Regions from separate parts of the Homo sapiens genome. Here region 2 is linked to region 1. The links are contacts of gene promoters, found by promoter capture Hi-C in human tissues and cell types (Jung and others, 2019). All regions are on one chromosome and are shown on one strand. The core of a region is centred on a gene start or on the middle of the fragment in contact, and the rest is flanking DNA. Distances in the headings are between cores, read along the strand shown. Region 1 holds the start of GPR18 (G protein-coupled receptor 18). Region 2 overlaps PCCA (propionyl-CoA carboxylase subunit alpha).

Evidence for each region. Contacts are between HindIII fragments. The study calls those that stand out against the background at their distance.
Region 2: a fragment that was not itself captured here is called in contact with the fragment with the promoter of GPR18 in region 1 in 1 of the 25 tissues and cell types used here (spleen).

Annotation. Positions count from the first base shown.
Region 1 is chr13:99,256,304-99,260,609 of GRCh38, reverse strand. It overlaps GPR18 (G protein-coupled receptor 18), which reads left to right and starts at 2,231. Exons shown (of 2, transcript NM_001098200.2): 1 at 2,231-2,456. The region is part of intron 4 of UBAC2 (UBA domain containing 2); the gene reads right to left. LOC124903198 (a long non-coding RNA gene) reads left to right here. Exons shown (of 3, transcript XR_007063846.1): 2 at 362-471; 3 at 2,024-2,171. The HindIII fragment of the contact is 6,968 bases long and covers 1-2,244 here.
Region 2 is chr13:100,516,205-100,520,712 of GRCh38, reverse strand. The region is part of intron 22 of PCCA (propionyl-CoA carboxylase subunit alpha); the gene reads right to left. Among named protein-coding and RNA genes, the nearest start is that of PCCA-AS1, 37 kb to the right of the region's middle. RefSeq lists enhancers at 811-1,476, 3,184-3,478, 2,927-3,651 and a silencer at 3,184-3,478. The HindIII fragment of the contact is 3,366 bases long and covers 1,337-4,508 here.

The sequences.
Region 1 (4,306 bases), core at 982-3,481:
ATAATTCCCTGCCAACACAAAACCATCGCGAAGATCCAGGAGCACAGCGAACGGGGGTCAATGCTATAGGGCTCATGGGTTGCAGGGGAGGACGACAGACCTCAGGCCCTTGCCTAAGTCTCCCCATCTCATAAGCTGGTCAAAGTGTCCCTGCCTGCTGACTCAAGGCCCAGACATTTATCCATTCCTCCCCCAACCTCTCCATTTCTTCACCTACTTGTTCAGTCAGAAATTCAACCAATATTAAATGCCTCTTCTCTACACACATATGCAACACATGCCAACTCTCAAGGAATGCAATTTAGTGGAGGAGAAAAAGCAAGTAAATATGCAGTAACAATGCAAACATGTGCCACTACAGGGATAGGTACCAAGTGCTAAGGAAACCTGCAGGGATGAACAACCAGCCCAGCTTCGGAGGGCAGAGAAACCAGCCCAGCTTCGGATGGCAGAGAAAGCTTCCTGAAAAAGGTAGCTACAAGAACAAAGAGCAGCAGGCCATGCCATCAGGTGGGAGACAGTGGTGAGGAATGCCACAGTGGGTGGAACAGCATGTGAGAGGCAGGAAGAGCAAATGTAGCCAGTCCAGAGGGCTGGAATGGAGAGCAAGATGAGGAAAAAGTGAGAGCTCACCCCAACCTGAAGCCAGGCCTATGGAGAGCCCTCAGGTGCTCCTGGATGCCTCCTCTAAGAGTCTGGCAATTCAGAAACAAGAATGCCCCTGTGCACCGTGAAGAATTCAAGTCTTGATGAAAGGACTCTTCTAGACACATGCCATCAATGTATCTGTTGATTTTAGCAGCAATGGGGAAGCTAATCAATACTTAATTTTAGAAAAGTCCTAAGCTATGTGAATAAGGCAAAGGACAGATTAGGTCTGCATGCAGGCAGATTTCTGTCCAGCTGAAACATCAAACTCCTGTGTGATGAATGAAATATAACATCACATATAAAAAACTGATGAATGTGATTCAGCCATAAGAAGTCCTATCTAGTGGACAGATCAATATAATTACCTCATAAGAAGTTATTACAGCGGGAGAAACTGGACCTGGCTTTACCTTGAGTTCTTAAGCAAGTAACTGGCCTTCAATTTCTTCATCCACACAAGAAATAGTTGCTATGGTTGTCTCCAACACTTCTAAAACCCATCATTCTGGCAGGTTGTAACAATCAAAAGTATTTTATCACCAAAGGCAAGGATTTAAGTAACTTTTCTAAGCCACAGATTTACTATGGTTTTGTCTGAGAAAAAAAAAAAAAAGGATGGACCCCAAACTGTCTAAAATTCAAAAAAACAAATACATTTAAGTTCATGAACCCTTTAAAAAGTTGACAAACCATGCATAACCAAACATAAAGATAATTAAAATTTTAGGATAAGCAAATGAGAGATAATTTTTTTTAAGAAATGAGAAAGTAAAACAAAATTAACCTAACAAGGCAGGCAGCGATTCGTTGCTCACTTCCCTTTCTGCTGGTTTCATTTCCCTTCTTAGGTGAAAACACTCTTAATATGTAAATCAGTCCACTAAAGACTTCAGAGTCCTTTCTGCTAAGATTTGCAGAAATTTTTATGCAAAAGAAATTATTTCTAGACTTCCACGCACTAGAAAAGCAGACTTACAAAATACAGCAAACTAAAGTGGATAAATGTATGTGGCAAAGCAGAAGCAATTAATCAAGGATCCTACTTTTAAGCATTTAGAAATGTTTAAATAGTAAAAAGTGGAAATGTGGATATTCTATGATTTTTAATAACTTGGTAGTAAAAAGTGAGACTCCATTTAGGAGTACCTACTAAGTGCCAGGTACTATTAAGCACTTGGGATCTTTCTGGTTTAGGGCCCCTACAATCCTACTGGATATAGTATTATCTCTATTTCAACTGTACAGAAATGAAGTAGGAACAAAGGGTTAGTCAGAGTGGGTAGGTAACTAGACAAAGTCACATAGCTTATAAAGCAAAGAAGCTAGACTTTAAACCCCCTTTTACTCAATATCAAATCTTCTCTTTCCATAGATGATGCAGACTTCAAGCATCAAAGTACACAAACTGAAGAAACTTTATCCTTTGTATATAATTATCTTAAATATATGCCATCATTTCAAGGGGAGCTTATGCTAAGTGTGACTTCATAAACAAATCATTTGTGAAAGAGAAAAACCACATCCAGGGTAAAGTCATAAGGTGAAAAAGCCTATTTCAGAGAGCACTTCCTGAAAGAGACAAAGCAGCAATTAAAGTCAGCCCAGCACCAACTCCGACGCCAAGCGTTACACTGGAAACTACTTTTTAAAGCAACAAAAGAGTCTAAAACAAAATACAACATTTCTTAAATACACTGTTTCCAGAAAGAGCTATTTTAACAGAAGCAACTCAAAGATATCCCTTCGACAGAAGTGGAAGTGCTGAAAAATGCTCATCTCTCACACAGACTTTTGATGGACAGGAGGTAAGCAGCATTTAATTAACTTCATGATTATTGTCAAAAGTAATGCTTTATGTACTGCATTTCAAAAATCATTTCATTTTAATAATACAGGCTGGGCGCAATGGCCCACGCCTGTAACTCCAACACTTTGGGAGGCCAAGGCAGGAGGATCAGTTGTGCCCAGGAGCACCATAGTGAGACCCCGTCTCTATTAAAAAAATATATTTAATTAAAAAAATAAACATAACAAACTATGTTGGTGAAAGACCTTGAAATAGGCTATATAATCATCTTTCCACATTAATATGATTTTACATTTATTTTCAATATTGCTTTACATTAATACTAAATGTAATTTTTTTCAACTTAAGGAAAGAAAATGTTTATGGTAAATCATATGTATATTTAGGAATGTTCATCACATGTTTTCAATTACATTGTTTCATGAAATAACTTAATGGTTTTTAAGAAAAGAAAAGCTACAGATAATCATGGTATCTATAGCTTTTAAAAAGCTGACTTTAAAGTCAATCACTTTTCAATATTTATCCAAAAATTTCTGTGTTTGCAGAGCACAATCAATACTATAATGCCTTTAAAACACATGCATCACTCATTTTTTTTCAAACGTCAGCAAATGAATATAAGTATTGGTGACAAGCTACATAAAAACAGCTTGAGCATAACGTGGGAAAAAAGACTCAAGATGGTTTGTAAGTACAGGACTTATGTCACAAAATTGAAGGATGAGGATAGGTGAAGGGAGTCCTGATGCAATACTAAAAAAAGAAAAACAAATACAAAATTTCATTTATATTATAATTGCTACTATTTAATAAGAATGCATTCCAGTTAAAAATAAGATTTAAGCCTCCAAGATTACTCTCCTTTGAATGACACTAGAGATATAATTTTTCTCTGTAGCACTTTCCTCATTTGATAGAAATTAATATTCTAGTCACACCAATATTTGGAAAATTTAATATGTTTTTAAATATATAGAATTATGCTCCTAAATCATATTTAACCTAAATATTTGAGAAGGAAAGAAGGAGAAGAAGGGAAGAAAGGGAAGGGAAGGGAAGGGAAAGGAAGGAAGGCAGACAGGCACGTTTCTTGTGTTTAACCACAGCAATTGCTCAAGTTAATTCTTAATTATCAATAGCCCGTGATGCCACTGACCACAGACAGCAAATCTCCCCCATAGTTTTCCTTAAAGAGAAATTCTGGGCTGATTTCAAGACAGCCCACTCTGCAAAGTGACATTTTTGAAGGAAACTTTTCATCCACCTCCATATTACAAGGGGATGCCACAGATTCCATCTCATTGCAGCAAAGTCTATTTTTGAAGTCTGTTGTTGGTGTTGCATCATGGGGGAATGAAGTTTCACACTGAGGAGTCAATGATATTTGCAACCCCAAATAACCTCCTTTCCATTTAAAATGGACGGTTTTTTTTTTTTTGGTGATGGAAATTTATAAGTTTCTACATACACATCAAGTTACTGAATGACTTCTTATTAATATCTACTTGTCTTAGATACTCCTTTTTTGGATTTACTTTGAAAATTGTTAAAATTTAAATAATATTGAAGCTTCTGAATCTAGATGGAATGAGGATATGAAAGTTACTAACGGCACTAGCTTTTTTCAAGGTGCTGCTTTCTGTGAACCACTGAAGTAGAGCAGCTGAAATCACAAAACCTGGAAGACTTGGCTTTACGTACTCCCAATTGTGCACTAGAAAACAGCTCATCTATTGCTCTAACAGTCTAGTTCTTGATCTGCTGACCATGACACAAAACATTGCTGTTTCTCAACCTATGATAATTTAAAGAGAACATAAGGTAATAAATATTATGAAGTGTTTC
Region 2 (4,508 bases), core at 1,770-4,269, 1.3 Mb before region 1:
TCTGCCTCCTCTTATCTACTAATAGATATTTGTTACCTCCAACAAAAACCAACTCTTTTTTTTTTTTTTTTTTTTTTTGAGACGGAGTCTCGCTCTGTCGCCCAGGCTGGAGTGCTGTGGCGCGATCTCCGCTCACTGCAAGCTCCGCCTTCCGGGTTCACGCCATTCTCCTGCCTCAGCCTCCCGAGTAGCTGGGACTACAGGCGCCCGCCACTGCGCCCGGCTAATTTTTTGTATTTTTAGTAGAGACGGGGTTTCACCGTGGTCTCGATCTCCTGACCTCGTGATCCGCCCGCCTCGGCCTCCCAAAGTGCTGGGATTACAGGCGTGAGCCACCGCGCCCGGCCAAAAACCAACTCTTAACATTTAAAAATAAATGTTATCTGGAAAAGATTAAAAGGCCAAATCCAGGGGTAGTCGTTACCTCTGAAGAAGACAGGACAGGAATGAGATGGAGGAGCTTGCCACAGGGGAAGTTCATGTTATATGTAATGTCTCATTGTTAAATAAAATTTGAAACACATATGGAAATGGTGAACAAAGGGCACAGGAGTGCTTGTTGGATTCTTCTCTGTAACTTTCTGCATGTTTGTAGTATTTCATAATTTTAAAGTCTTAAAATGTTAACAAATGCATGGATCTCTGTGTACATGCTGTGAGATACAATCTGAGGTTTGGGTGAAAACTGGCATCTTGTCAAATAAACTGCTTGAATAACTATTGCTATAAAACATATAAATTTAATTACTGCAATTATTTTGTGATTGTAAATCAAGGTATCCAGAAACTGGAAAGTCTATGAAGCAGCCAGGCTAGCCCCTCTGCCAGGGAAAGATGCAGTGAGCGAGCCTGGGCTGCATGAGGCACACAAGCGCGATGCCAGGCAAACACCCGTCGGGAGGGCCCAGCCCTGCCTTCTCGTTAGGATACGTGAGAGCTTATGAAATTTTAAAATCTTGTTTAAGAAATAAAAAATAAAGGTATCTCACCAAGTTTGCCAGTTCTGTATGGTCGGCTATAAGCTCAGTTACATGAGGCTTAGAGACAAAGGGGAGGAGGGGACGTCAGACTCTGAGATGGGATGGGGTGCCTGTGTCTTGTGGCCCTGACTGCACACCTGCTTGGGAGCCTGCCCTGTCAAAGGAGCACGTGCAAGGAGGAAACAAAATCAGGGTGAAGTGTAAGTGGTGTTGCCACCGACGCCCACCGATGTGATGCTTTCCCTGGCACACTGTACAGTAGGCTGTTTCTCGCCTTTAAGGCGTTGTTCACAAGAGGAACAACCGCAGACACCTCACTGTCCCCTGCTGAAGGTCAATTCCATCACGAGGTGGATCTTTTCATCTTAGCCCCACCAAAATATCCCGAAGTCTAATATCGAATGGGCTAATTCGCAAGAAAAAGCAGCAACAGGTACTTAATTTCAATCTATTCTTTCACCTGGTTTCACTAATTGTTAAGAAAGAAAGAAATGCAGATGAGTATATAGCAGCTTATGGTTTGTTTCTCATTTGTTTGGTGTATTAAATGAGTATTTCTGATGCAAATCTGTGATGACTGCAGAATACGAACATTACTTGAAAGAATCTTAACTAAATGCAATATTAAAATGCCTCCTTGGGTGACTATCTTATGGGGTGGTTTTGTTTCTGATATCAAAAGGCTAACAAAGCGAATGTGCTCATCATGACTTTATTTGACTTCAAAGTCAAAGTGAAAATTATGCAATAAATTCAGCAGCTATAAGTCTAATTTGACATGTGGAAAAATGTATTCTACCGTTATTCTGAAAATATATATATTTCTAACATTTCTGTTCAAGAGTATCATAAAGGTAGAAGTTTGAAACAGCTGAGTCATGCTAACTTTGATTACAGAAGTGCTCCCAGTTTACAATAGTGTTACGAGTCTAAGAAAACGAGTTTTCAAACTGAAATGAGTTACTGCAGAAACATTTTCAGAAGGCATATAAAAAGGCACTAAAATTTATTCTATCAGTTGTTTCCTAAATTATATTACTGATTCTGGACCTTAATAATCCACTGTACTTTCTTATTGATTTGTTTGCTTACCTGCATTTTACTGTGTATTAACATCCTCTCTCCACGTGTTCGGAAAAACTATTACACAATCATTTAAAATGTGACCTGCCACATTTAATGTTAAATAGTATATAACAGACACTGAAAAAGTTATTAGGAACTTTTGCTGTGTGAACCCTACAGAAGCCCTTCAAATAAAACACAGCTTCTGTGTTTAGGGCAGGCTGAGTGTTTCAAATGAATCAGTGCACAAGGCCCTGCCACACCAAGCGCCCCGAGCGGATTCACTACTTCTCAACGGCCACCCCACATCTCTTCTTCCTGAGGTTTTTAAACTGTGTTCAAATTGTTTACTTCACAAAACAGATTTGTTCATTACGATTTATGTGACACTTTTTTTAGAACTTATTGCCAGGCCCACCATTCTACGATTGGTCAAGTTTTACTTCAGCTAAGCTAAACAGAAACATGATAGATTACTGGAATTTAAACGATAAAAAGTAACATTTCAAAGAAAAACAGAATACTTGTAAGGCCCTTAGTTGTTTTAGGGTCCTTATTTTCCTTGAAAATACACCAAGGAGACTGACTCCATTATCTTCCCACCCATAAAAGGGGAACCTCGCCCGGCTATTGTTAGTGCGGAGGAAAACACAACACGCCCCGCGGTGTTAAAATCACTTAAAACCGCAAAATTTCAACGTGACAGGTAGTGTTTCCTCACAATGGCCTCAAGTAAGTGACGTGCCTCTGGTCCAAGGAAGCTTCTTGTGTTTTAATTACACTAAGCAGAATTTAACTATAGAAGTTGCGCTAAGAGCCGACGATGAAACTTCTCAGGCTGCATTGGGTTTCGGTATTAGTGGTTTGGGACATTTTTCACAAGCAGTAATTCAAGAGAAAAGGCTGTTTCATCAAAACACAATGGCACAGAATATGAAAGGAAGTTCTGCAAGTACCAAAAAAGACAAATAAAAGCAAGTATACGCCCCACCTGAGCAGCCCCCGCAAACAGAACTTAGGAGGGAGCTGACAGATCCCGAGGTCCTGAGCCTGTTCACTACGCGTGCCCCCCAGGTACTCTGAATTTAAAGGAATGCATAAAATATAGGCCCCGTTGCTCTGCCGTAACATATTTTTAACAGTTCTCAAACCATTCTTAATGAGTACACACATTTAATTATTGGTGGGTGTTTTTAATATCTGAGCTACATCAATGAACCAAGGACTGATATCACATTGTTCCCATTTACGAAATGCCTTGCTTTTCTACATTCAATTATTAACCAGGAAATGGAACGTACAAAGGCCAAACCCTTTCGGTATGTGGGAAAGTCAGATCAGGAGCCAGCAGCTGTTAAAGAAACCAGAAGGCTGCGCTGATCTGGCCTTGGGAGCGCCCCGTTTACTGCCTCTGAGCAACCTCCTTGAGGGCCGTGTGAGGGGCCAGGGCTGCAGTCTCACCCTCTTGCCCTCCAGGCTTGAGGCAGGAGTGGTCTCCCTCATCCCTGCCCGCCCTCCCTCCACTCCGGTTTGGATTCAGGTGTTAGAAAAGGATTTAAGGAAAACACTTACTTGAAACACACACACACACACACACACACACACACACACACACACACACGATTTTATAATTAAAGCCACACAATTAGGAGTGGAAAGCTCAGGCTGGCAGTATACAGACTAGATAGATGCCTTCCAGAAAAAAAACTTAAGAAAAATGAAAAAAACAAAACAAAACCCTTATATTGTTTACGAACCTACATATCTAGTCACTAGAAGATTCCACTGACAGCTCTGATAATGTCACGTGCAAGTGAACGATTCTTAATGTCAAGGCCACGAGACTATCCTCTTACGACCCTAACTCTGGAGAAGGAAGATGTCCTCCCCTGAATTTTACACACATTACACACACACACACACACACACACGTAATTTTTCTTATGGCCTCTCCCAAATCCTTAACACGTGGGCATTAGACAGTCTTAAAGAGGGCTTTCTTCCAGGAGTATCAATGCTTTCACAGCAAACAACAATTCACAGCCACGTAGCCTCTTTTATGCCTTTCTGAAAAAGTGGACAGTTCTATTTCTGTATCACCAGGTAAAGCAGCTGTTAAGTCGGTTTTCTAACTTCGCATATTAGTTTCAGGGCTGGTCATTCAAACAACTAAAACTGATCATGTTTTCTTAATATTCACATTTATTGCAAATACTTTTCTAGAAGCCAATGCCAACTACCTGATTTTTTCCTCAATGTTAAGCAGATATTTTATCTGTACTATTGAGAAATCAGGAGGCACTAAAATGTAAGTCCCAGTGACCTGAGATACAAAACGGAATCACCACCTCATCCATGAGAGACAGTCATGTCCGGATGCTATTTTCCTGCACATGAATAAAAATGCAAGTATTTAAGTGTACCTGGAAATCTGGTTGCCTCCTAAATTGTTTTCTTTTCACT